2 separate regions of the Homo sapiens genome follow, and region 1 is linked to region 2. The links are contacts of gene promoters, found by promoter capture Hi-C in blood cells and fetal thymus (Javierre and others, 2016). All regions are on one chromosome and are shown on one strand. Each heading gives the region's core, a stretch centred on a gene start or on the middle of the fragment in contact. The rest is flanking DNA. Distances are from core to core; before and after follow the strand shown.

What was found. Contacts are between HindIII fragments. The CHiCAGO score rates a contact against its expected background, and 5 or more counts as called.
Region 1: a contact is called between the fragment with the promoter of ASTL here and a fragment that was not itself captured in region 2, in 1 of 17 cell types (total CD8 T cells). The highest score is 7.8, in total CD8 T cells.

Annotation. Positions count from the first base shown.
Region 1 is chr2:96,133,680-96,140,092 of GRCh38, forward strand. ASTL (astacin like metalloendopeptidase) reads right to left here and starts at 4,823. Exons shown (of 9, transcript NM_001002036.4): 1 at 4,703-4,823; 2 at 3,896-4,021; 3 at 1,672-1,733; 4 at 286-379. The coding sequence starts at 4,757. RefSeq lists enhancers at 937-1,436, 2,288-2,337, 4,678-4,747 and a silencer at 5,638-5,727. The HindIII fragment of the contact is 4,955 bases long and covers 426-5,380 here.
Region 2 is chr2:96,590,856-96,596,488 of GRCh38, forward strand. It overlaps KANSL3 (KAT8 regulatory NSL complex subunit 3), which reads right to left. Exons shown (of 21, transcript NM_001115016.3): 21 at 2,317-4,776. The coding sequence ends at 4,756. Among named protein-coding and RNA genes, the nearest start is that of KANSL3, 45 kb to the right of the region's middle. The HindIII fragment of the contact is 317 bases long and covers 2,596-2,912 here.

The DNA of each region.
Region 1 (6,413 bases), core at 3,573-6,072, 460 kb before region 2:
CTGGGCCCCAGACAGACCCTGGCTGTGTGGCCTTGGGTAGGTCACTGTCCTCTGCACCGCATGGTCTCAAGGGGAACCAGATCCCCACTCGACATACCTTCCCATCAGATTTTAACCCTCCCTACTCAGGAGACCTTCAGCAACAGAAGGGCATCTGTGGACAGGTTCTTCGGGTGGGGAGGTGGAAGGGATGTGATGGTGTAAGAGGAAAAGGGAAGAGAGGAACACCTGCCGCATTAGGAAGAAGGGGCTGAGGCAGGGAGGGAGCGCGCCATGCTCACTCACCGTACTTGCTGGAGAGCAGGAAGGGGACCTCCACGACACCACTACCACCCATGGGCCATTTGTTGCTGGTTGCTGACAGCAGTCGGAAGGGACTCTGAGGAGAGAGCAGCAGTTCAACCCCTGGGGACAGAGGCCACCCAAGCTTTGTGCCCCAAGGGTACCACACCCCAGGGCACCAGAACCCCAAAGATGTGGGAGTCAGGACCTGTGTGCATGGGAATGGGGGACCATTAGAGATGGGACAGAGCTGTGGAAGGCAAGGGGCCAGCTACATGAACCTTGATGCACAAGACAGTCCCTTGGCCTATGATGAAAGAATTTCAATCTCAAGCAAACAAGAGATTAGTCCCTGAGGATGTTGGCTAGGAGGCCCAGCACCCCAGGGTGCCCTGAATCAGAAGGGCTTGGGCCAGCAGCCCCACTCCAGCATGTTGACAGTGCCCCTTCCAGAGGGGAACAGCCACCAGGCTTCCCTGAACATGGGACGATCATGGGAACAGAGCCATATGGAGTGAAAGTGAGGCAGCACCCTGGCCTCGGCTGCTTACTTCTGCTCTCCAGCAACCAGAGCCCTTCGGTGCCCAGGCTCCACAGCACCCCAGCGTGCCTGTGCCATCGGCTGGAGGCATTTGATTCTGCTCCGGGTGGTCGCACACCACCTGCCCGAGCACTCACTGCATAACCCAGAGGGTCTGCCCTGCCCCCGGAGTTCCTGGGCAGCCTTGGGCCAGCCTCTGGCTCTCCTGCCCAGCCAGAGGCTGTGCCGTCAGTGGCAGCCTCCAACAGGACAGTCTTGCCTTCCCCTGGGTCACTGTCCTATTCAGGAGCCTTCTGCCATTCGCAGTTGCCTGAAACACATGGCTGCCATCCTGGGCACAGTGTTCCCTTTTCTGTTAGCAAGGCGCCCCAATCCCCAGCAACCTTCTCCCTTCAGATGCGGCCCCTCGACCACAGCCAAGATGGTCAGGCTCAACATCACTCCTTGTTCCACCATCCCTAGGTCGCCACTGCCACCAGGCCCTTTATCTGCCACTGGCCACTCTGCCAACCCTTGCTCATCTCTTCCTTTATCTGAGCACCTCCCGAGTGCTGAGCACCTCCCCTGGGCAGGGTACCAAGCTGGGTCAAGTGTTCAAACCTCCTCCTTCAGGAAGCCCTCTCAGGCTGACTGTGCCAGCACTTCAGATACCAGCCTTCCTTAGCATTCAGGCTGGCTTATTCCTATTTCCTAACAGAACAGTCGCTCTGACCTTGACAAAAAGAGGCATCTACCAAGCTATGTATGTCCCTCACACATCAGGCCCCATGGCATCCAGGGTGGGCTCAGAGGACCTGTCGCCAACTGTGGGCTTATCCGCACCCACACACGTCAGTGTGTGCACTCACCGGCCGGATGATGTCCCCCTCGATGAGGAAGCTGCTCTCTGGGGTTTCTTCCAGGATGAGCCCTGGGAAAGGAAGAAGGACGTGTTGGCCCATGTCCCCCAGAACACTGACTCGTGGGACAGGCCAAGCAAATCCCTACTTACTTAAGTCTATTCTTGTGTCTTTCCTAGTGGATTGTTACTTTTATAAGTTCTTAAATAGCCTGATAAAAGTATAGGTCATCGGCTCTCCGAGCCTGGGTGTTTAGTTAAGTCATTAGTTGATGTTTGAGAATGTCAGCCACCCTGTGCGGACTGTCTGCAGGTGTGAGGGGGCTGGAGGACAAAGACAAAGGAGACTGAGGCTTGGGGTCTGTCCCTCTCCTGACTGTGGAGCTAGAGGTTCCCTGAGCACTGAGCCTGCGTGGCCTCAGGGAAGTCACACAGTCCCTGAGTGTGCAAGGCTTCTCGGCTGGACTGCAGCCTTCCCCTGCTCAAACACAGCCCATGACCCACGCAATCCAGTCCCAAGCCCGGGTCCCTGCTGTCAGGAAGCAGTGGCTTCTTCCAGCCTGAGCCACACTCCTCAGAACAGGCCCTGGGGTCTCCTGCCCACCTCATCCCCCATCTATTCCCCACCCATCTGTTATATTCAGGCCCCTTGAGGTGGCAATTTTGTTCCACAAATTTGTTCCACCATCAGAGGCAGGCAAATACCGGCTCTCGCAAGCCCCTCTCCCCTCTTAGTCCCTCTGCTTCTCATCTCTCCCTGAGCCGGGTCTCCCACAAGTGACTCACAGGGGGAGTGAGGGAAGCAGGAGAGAAGGCAGGGAAGAACCCAGGCACAGCCTCAGCCAGATCCCATGGGCGCTCCAGACCACAAATGACACCGCTGACTTGTACCACCTTTAGGCAGGAGCCAGACTCCTGTCCCTTAGAAGTCACAGTAGGCCACCTTGGGCAGACAAGGGAGTAGCCCCCGGGCATCTCTGGCTGAGGCAGCTCCTTCTGGCCAAGGGCCAGTTTTGGGAGGCAGACAGCTGTGCAGCATTAGCCATATTCACAGTGGCTGGAGATGGGCAGGTGCTTCCCAGGAAAGCACTGGGTAAGGCACGGGCAGCCCTTATGAGACAGCCTCACCGTAGGTGATAGGATAGTTGTTGGGGTCACCAGCATTTGGGAGTTTTCTCCATTGGTTCTGGTTACCTGCAGACCACTCACGGTGATCCAGGGGTGGGATGGTGCCTGGGGCTCAAGGCTCAGCTGGCGCTGGGCTCCCAAGTCAGCTCACAGAGGAAGAAGGGGGCAGATCACACAGTGGCTACCACATCTGGTAGGATCTCACCCACCCTTAGGGCAAGGTTGTCCCCTGTTCAGCCCGATTGCTTCAACCCTGAGTGCTTCAGCCCTCATTGCTCCAACATCTGAACTCCAGTCTCCATTTCAACTGGCTTTGTTCAGGCTATTTATACACCCTCATTCCTCAGCTGACATCCCCAGACAGCAAGGCCCTGAGCCTGACTTTTGTTTTTTGTTTTTTGTGAGATGCTCTGTCGCCCAGGCTGGAGTGCAGTGGCGCAATCTCAGCTCACTGCAAGCTCCGCCTCCCAGGTTCATGCCATTCTCCTGCCTCAGCCTCCTGAGTAGCTGGGACTACAGGCGCCCGCCACCACGCCCGGCTAATTTTTGTATTTTTGGTGGGGACGGGGTTTCACTGTGTTAGCCAGGATGGTCTCGATCTCCTGACCTCATGATCTGCCCGCCTCAGCCTCCCAAAGTGCTGGGACTACAGGCGAGAGCCACCGCACCCAGCTGAGCTTCAGACTTCTTAATCACACCTGCAGACAGTCCTGCACAGGGTGGCTGACAATCTCAGACTGCGACTAACCGCTTAGCTCCACGCCCAGGCCCTTTAAGAGCTTGGTTTTTCTTATAAAAGTAACAATCCACTAAGAAAGATACAAAAAGAAAGAGTAGACTTAAGCAATTGCCCATAGAATTTCCACCCATTCACACCTGTAGTCCCAGCTGCTCGGGAGGCAGAGGCAGGAAGATCACTTAAGGCCAGGAGTTCAAGACCAGCCGGGGCAATATAGCAACACCACTCCATCTCTTAAAAACCACTTAGAGCCCAGAGTAAGCTGGTCCATTTCCTCCCAGGCTCTGCATTTCTGAGTGTTCGGTGTGGTTTTCACACTACATAACGTCGTGCCCCTCCAGGCCGTGAGAAGATGTAGTGCCCTCACCTTGGTTAATTGCAGGAATGTCCTTGTCCCCGGAGGCCTGGGTTCCCTCAGGGGTGAGGCCATCTGGGAAGCTGGTACCACAGGCTCCTGCGCAGCTGGAGGCCAGGGGCGCTCCTAGGATCACACCTGGTCCAGACAGACAGGGGCATACACAGATGCCTGGAGCACCCACCGGTGAGACCAGACAGCAGGACATGGGGTGGGTGTGGGGGATCAGACGGTAAGACTCAGTCCCTAGGAAGAGTAGGCTCCAGCACAAAGCCAAGGAGCCTTCCCAGCCTCCCTGCTCAACCCCAACTGGTGCCAAGGTCTAGATGACCTCAGGGAAGGAGCTCCCTTAGGGGGACCAAAAGGGACCATGTGCCCCACCTATGAGGTAGAGGAGGGGCAGGAAGGAAGGAGGCAGGACAGACCTCGGGTTCTGACGCCCGTGACGGGCAGGGCCAGCCTCAGACCCCACCTTATGACTCTCTCTCAGCCCAGGCTCTTGGACAATGGGCTCAGCCTGGATGACTCCCTGCCTGACCAGGCTGGAGTGGGGACTTACAGCCTACCCCCACCCCAAGACAAGTAGGCCTGGGGCACAACACTTATCTTCTGCCAGGCAGGCCCTCTGCTTCCAGGGCCTTCAGGAGGCCTCCCCTTGGCCCCCCAGGAGCTGACTTCTAGAATAACCCTGGAGAGCTCTGTGCTCTGAGCTACTGAGCTCAGCTACAATCCCTGCAGGCTCCAGCCACAACCTTCTAGCCTCTCCCCAGCTTTCTCCAGGCTGGAGCCAGCAGCAGGAGGGACAGGCAGCCAGCTTACCTGGCAAGGAGAGCAGACCCAGCACCCAAGGCCAGAGACCCCCTACACCCTCCATGGTAGAGCCCTGCTGCCCCTTCAGCAAACAAGACCAAGCCCCAGCAAGACACAGTAACCTAATTGCAGAACCGGCACCACCACCCCCTCTTAAATAGCAGCTGCTCCACCTCCCACCTTGCTCCCCTCAACCGCCTCCACCTGCAGCCCCGCCCCAACCACCTCCACCTGCAGCCCCGCCCCAACCATCTCCACCTGCAGCCCCGCCCCAACCACCTCCACCTGCAGCCCCGCCCCAACCAGCTCCACCTGCAGCCCCGCCCCAACCAGCTCTACCGGCAGCGCCACCCAAACCAGGTCTACTGGCAGCCCCTCCGATGCCTACCTGTGGTTCCCACCCCAGCCCAGTCCCCTTCCTGGCTGTAGCAGGTGAAAGACAGGAGGGGCCCGCTTGGGAGTGTGGCTCTTCTGAGGTTCCTTCCTGCCTCCAGGGGGCAGAGAAACATCGCAGAAAGTTGCTCCAGGCCTAGCTGAGGCCCCAGCCCAGGTATAGACCTATTCCTCCAGCGAGGGAGACCCCCTTTCCTACCCCGGCCTGTGCTTAGACATGGGGAAAGCTGCCTGAGACCCTGGGGCGCCCCCCGTGTATCTCCGGAAGGAGGAAAAGGTCACTGCACTTTCACAAGCTTTTATTTTAGTACACATATAGAAAAGTTCACTATCACAAGCACAGGGCTCCAGGAAATTTCACAAACTGAACAGTGTGCAGCACCCTAGAAAGCCTGCCATGTGGGAAAGGTGGAACCCCCAGATGCCCAGAGCCTCGCAGGGAGTCCACCCCCTAATCCCACAGCAGCTGGCATGATCAGTCAGTATTTATTCCCATTTCACAGATTTGGAAATTTAAACTCCTTACCTATATCCCCCCTCCTCCATACCCCTGAGCCCCAGAGCCAGGTCACTCAGGGCCCCACCTGGATTGAAATCCCAGAGGCGGAGCATGTCAGCGCTGGGCAGCATTTGGGGACACCCCCACAGTCACCTGCACCCAGTGAAGGGAAGCGACAGAGCCAAGAAGAATAGCTATTGTCCACAAGGACCTTTCAGCATTCCCACTGTGCCTGGAATCCAGAGCTTCTCCAAAGATAGGAATCAGAATCACAGGGAGACCATGATGGAGGCAGACGCCCTGCTGCCAGGGCAGGGTATTGACAGATGTCAGGATACACACCATGGATATGCTAGTTAGCTTGTTGTGGTCATCATTTCACAAGGTATGCATATGTCAAAACATCACGTTGTATACTTAAACATATACTACTTTTATTTGTCGATTATGCCTCAGTAAACCTAGAAAAAATAAGTAAAATAAAGAATAGGACCCATCAAAAAACAAATGCACAAGGCTGACCACTTAAGATGAGTGTTCAGGAGGGCGCGGTGGCTCACGCCTATAATCCCAGCACTTTGGGAGGCCAAGGCAGGTGGATCACGAGGTCAGGAATTCAAGACCAGACTGGCCACCATGGTGAAACCCCATCTCTACTAAAAGAATACAAAAATTAGCTGGGCACGGTGGCGGGCACCTGTAATCCCACCTACTCGGGAGGCTGAGGCAGGTGAATCACTTGAACCCAGAGGTGGAGTTTGCAATGAGCCAAAATCGCGCCACTGCACTCTAGCCCGGGGGACAGAGTGAGACTCCATCTCAAAAAAA
Region 2 (5,633 bases), core at 1,504-4,003:
TGTGCCTGTAATCCCAGCTACTCAGAAGGCTGAGGCAGGGGAATTGCTTGAACCAGGGAGGTGGAGGTTGCAGTGAGCTGAGATCGTGCCACTGCACTCCAGCCTAGGCGACACAGCAAGACTCCGTCTCAAAAAACAAAACAAAACAAAACAAAACAAAACAAAACAAAACCACTGCACACAATTGCCACAGTAGCTTTATCTGTAATAGCCCCCAACAGGGAACAAACTAGATGTCCCTCAATAGGTGAATGAATTGTTACACAAACTGTGCTAAACCCATACCATGAAATACCACTCAGCAATAAAAGGAATGAACTACTCATATACACGTAACAACTTGGATGTGTATCAAGGAAATGATATTGAATGAAAACAAGACAATCTCAAAAGGCCATGCACTGTAAGATTCTATTTATACATCAACCTATTTAGGACAAGTAGAAGAGATTAGTGGTTGCTAGGGTCAGGAATGGTGGGGAAGGAGATGGATGCAACTATAAAGGGGTGGCATGAGGGAGATCTTTGTGCTGATGGAACCATTCTGTATTTTGTTTATGGTTACAGCGATAAAATGACATAGAACTATACACACACATTGTACCAACTTCCTGGTTTTAATTTTGTATTATAGTTAAGTGAGATGTAAGTACTGGGGAAACTTGGTGAAGGGTGTTATACTATACTACAATTGCAGGTTAAAAACACACATATCTAACAGTCCAGCAGTGTTTTGCTTTGTTTAAATCCATCTACTTCTCCTTAGAAAAGTAATGATATGAACCACATGACTTCATCTTCTGGATACTATGATTGGACTGGGTGGGAAGAGATAAGGAGAACCAACCCACAAGTGAGAGTGAGCCAATCAGGCTGTCTTCAGAATTTGAACTGAATGAAAGAGACCAGCCATCCATAAAGGGTTCTGCAGCTAAAAAGTCCTGTGACAATAGGATCAAAACTGGATCCCGGCAAGTCCAAGCCACTTGAGGTCACGAGGCAAGTACCAAAACCGTGAGGCTCCTTGTCTATAAAAATGCCTAATGAGAGAATATTCCCTTTCAGAGCTATTTTGGTGGTGAATAGGTTTCTCCTTCTTGCAGCCATCAACCCTGACCAAAATGTGTGCTTGAAAAAGACATAAAAAGGTAAAAAAGACTTGTCTGCATCATTATTTGCTATGGCCCTGTCCCCATACCCCTGAAGTTTCAGAGAGCTGTCATTTTAACAATCTAATCCTCATCTCGCTTGACCTGACTGCTCAAGTCAGTGAGACTAGAGTTTGAGGGAGAAGACAGCAAACCAGATGTCTACTAAGGAGGGTAACACGATGTGCCCAGGTATACTGGACACTCCAAGCAGCATACCAGAACTATGGCCTCCACCCAGAGGGCTCCAATGCCAAGGGTAGTGACCTGGAATTTAGGGGTTAGAAGGAAGGTCCTCCTGAATACAAGTTAACAAATAATCTAGAGGTTGGAATTCATTCATTCATCTCTAAATCTTTATGTATTTATTGGCGGTGGGTGGAGGTATAGGAAGTGCGAAAGGATACTGATCTTTCAGGATCAAGGTTGAGGGACCCCACCTACTGACGTAGGCTCAGCCAAGAGCCCCACCATATCAACATCAATTACTCTTGGCCTGGTGGGAAGTAAACTGAAAAGGTCACGTGCAGGCCAAGCCACCATCTCCTCACCTCCTGGGTTAATCTCTACCTCCAGTCTCCCATCTTAGAACCCTAGCACAATGCAGAGTAGAAAAGACACTGACATCAGACTGTCTGGGTTCCAGTACTGCTTCTGCCATTTCCTGCTGTTTTGACTGCTCTGTGCCTGTTTCCTCACTTATAGAAAGGAAATTACAGGCTGGGTGTGGTGGCTCACGCCTGTAATCCCAGCACTTTGGGAGGCTGAGGCGGGCGGATCACAAGGTCAGGAGTTTGAGACCAGCTTGGCCAACATAGTGGAACCCTGTCTCTACTAAAAACACAAAAAATTAGCTGGGCGTGGTGTCGGGCGCCTGTAATCTCAGCTACTTGGGAGGCTGAGGCAGGAGAATTGCTTGAACACAGGAGGCGGAAGTTGCAGTTAGCCAAGATCGCGCCATTGCACTCCAGCCCAAATAACAATGCGAGACTCCATCTCGAAAAAAAAAAAAGGAAATTACAGTACCCCCTCATACCACCTGGCATTGGTGAGGTGATGATCACTGGCCTTACAATATCTTAGCTCTACCTTTGGTGCCCACTTCATTGGGTGGTTTCCAGAATACATATGAGAAGTCAACTGAAAAGAAGCTGAAGCAATCCAAATGTTGTTTTTGGTGTTTTTAATTGTTTTTGTTAATGTAAAAACAGAACCATCACAGCCGCTCAGCTCTATAACCCATCCAGCCCAAGACTGTTCTAGTGGTGAAACCAAGAGTAGACAGGTCTTCCTACCTCAGTGACCTCAAAACACAAGGACATCTCCATAGGGCATCAACATGCATCTGTCATCCAAGAATCTAAGAACTTCCTGATCCTTCCACATTTTCTATCAATAATATTGCCTTCTGAGGTTATGGATTCCAGGTCTTCTATGAAATAGGTAAAGCTTCCTTTCGCGTTCCAAGAAATATAGTTTGCGAAGGGAACTGGAAAACGTGACTCTAGGCCTCAGCCACTTCCTCTGTTACCCTGTGCAAGTTGTAGAACAATCCACGTTCTCACAGCTCCCCTTCTTCAGTTGTGGAGTTCTTCAAGGTGGACAGATCACACCTCAGGAAGTCATCCCTTGTAAGCACACTAGAATTTATCATAAAGGCAGGTCGGCTTGTTAGTTTTTCTTTGTCCCCAGCATACACTGAGCCAACAACTTAAGTCATGAATGGGTTGTTTAGGGCTCTGTCTGTCCTAAATGATTCCTAAAAGCTTCATATAGCTCATATAGTCTTATTGTCCACTGCTCTTTTGGTGTGGTATGATCCTACCTGTAAAGCTATCAAACCCCTGGGTCCTGGATGCCTCCTCCAGATTTCATACCTTCCTCAAGTTTACTAAATACTTTCTGAATTTAAGAATTTTGAGAAAGTCACCTACCAGCTAATGCAAAAACACAGCCTAATTCTGTGTGAATCCCTGTTGAGATCAGCTTTTCAGGTCAGGGAGGGAAGGTATGGGGTTTAGGGTACCCTCTCCTATCACACACATCCCCCCTGCCCACAGTACCCTGACCTACCTTGCCTGAGACTCCTAGACACTATGAGCTCCCTTCTGGCTGCCACTCAGACTGGCCAGGAAGGCTCCCAGATTGAACACAGGTGACCTGGTATAGATACACACTGTACTGTGGGCCAGAACCATGGACTACATTTTAAGCCATGTTGTGGGCCCTTCCTGCCTACAGAAAAGGACACTTGAGTGGAGTCACACTTGGGTTGCCTAATTTATTACCTTAACTAGAAACATTCTAAGTATGGGAGCCTGTTCTGGAGGATAGCTTCTAAACCAAATCTAAAACTATCTTTGCACACAAGTGTTGTGAAGAGGTAAGCAGGGGATCAGAGCTCCATCTTCTGTGACCACTTCTCCAGGGACTGCCACCTATAGGGCTCAGGTTGGTACCAACAGCCCTGCATAGTAGAGTCACTGTCAATCATCTTCCCACTTGTAAGCAGGAAGACAAAAAGTCTCATGAAATAGAAACGAAAACACTGAAGCATGGCCTTCATCGTCCTAATGCCACAAGTTTCCTGGGATGGCCAAGATACTACCTTAGCTTATTGTCCCTGCTTCACCTCCAGAGACTGGAGACAGAGGATTTTCCGGGGTTGGGGTTTCTTCTCTGACTTGGCAAATTCTTCTTTTTATCTCCAGCTGAACCACCAGTTCCTTGGGTAGCAGAGCAGAGACCTAAGCACAAACCACAGGGCTTACTAGCACATCCTTCAAGCCACTTCCTTTGCTGTTCTATTACTCTTCTTCAGCTTATCTGAACCTGCGGACTCTCTGGATACAGAAACTGCCCAAAGCATGGTGAAAAAGACAAAGGGCCCAGGTTTCACCTGGCAACCACTGCTCCCAACATCTAGAGTAAGTCAAAGAGGCTGAAAGATGACAGCCTAGTTCTCTTTGCCTTCATTATGATACTAACAAAAACCAGAAGTTTCCAGGAGTCAGCAAGCTACTCAGTATCTGACGTGGTTTCTAAGGTGGAGTTGCATGGGGAGCACTCTCCCGTGGCTGCTGAGTGAAGGCAACAGTGATGTCCAAAACAAGCCCGTCCGGCTCTGAACCACCAGTTGGCAGGCCAGGATGACTCCAGTCTTTAGCAAAGAGCTTTCCATTCTAACTCCCGAAATCCCAGACCAGATGGATGTCTCCTCCCAACTAGGCGCAGAGGGTAGCACAGACTTCCAAAAGGAAACACCTTCATTAAATGCAGCAGGCAGTCCTATATGCTGACCCTTGGGTCAAACCACAGCTTAAGCGGGGGAAGAAGTGGTTCTGATCCATGTACAGCCAGATCTGCTGAGGAGTCTGGGGTTCCCAGGAACCAGATTTGCAGATCCTGGACGATGGTGCTTCCCTTGCTGGCACCGTATCACCTAACCTAATGGTTTCTCTGAAGACAGTTGGCGGAGAGGCAAAAATGACTGTCTTAAACAGGTCTTCCGACACGTGGACAGCTCAGCAGGACCACACACCTGTCCAGGGCCCACCATGAGGCAGCCATCACCAACTTGGTAAGGAGGACATATCACACAGCATCTTCAGGGTGCTGGAGGCAGGCGCTGTGGCAGGAGAGGTAGTGAAGAAGGGTCAAAGCTTTGACAGGTTATCATCATATTCAGACCCTCTATCCCAATTATCCCAACTCCTGAGAATTTATTTTAAAGAATTAATTCTCAATAGGAAAGAAGTTGGATACACAAGGACACATGTTCTAGCTGCCAAGTGGTTAACAGAACATGGACTCTAGAGTGAGAGACTCAACTTTCCACTTTTTAAGGCAAGTGCCTATGTTCTCTGAGCCTCCTTTTCCTCGCCTGTAAGAGGTAGATGACAGCATCTACTTTCCAGGGTCACCGTAAGGATTAAATGAAATAATCCACATAAAGCTCCTGAGTTTAATCTGTGCTCAACAACAAAGGTCACCTCATATTATTACACATGAAGACAGAAAAGGAATGCAGAAAAAAGGAAATAGGTGAGTTTTTAAGGGCAACAGAACAGAAGGGAAGATTTCCGTGACTTCTGATTTTGAGGCCTTAGACATGTAGGTGTGGGGGGATGCCATCAATGTTGAGCCCTGCAGCTTAAGAATAAGGAAGCAAGTAGAGAGGGTGGCCTTTTTTACCAACGCTTTCCCCACTTTTCTAAATTTCCCCCTTGGGAAACTCCTAAGAGGTCTCTGAGAATGTAGTAAAGGAGGGAAGGCCAGGCGAGGTGGCTCATGCCTATAATCCCAACACTTTGGGAGGCCAGGCAGGAGGACTGCTTGAGCCCAGAAGTTTAAGACCAGCCTGGGCAACTTAGCCCATCTCTACAAAATTTTTTCAAACATTAGGTGAGCATAGTGCTGCATGCCTTATAGGCCCAGCTACTCGGGAGGCCGAGGCCACAGGATTGTTTGAGCCCAAGAGGTTGA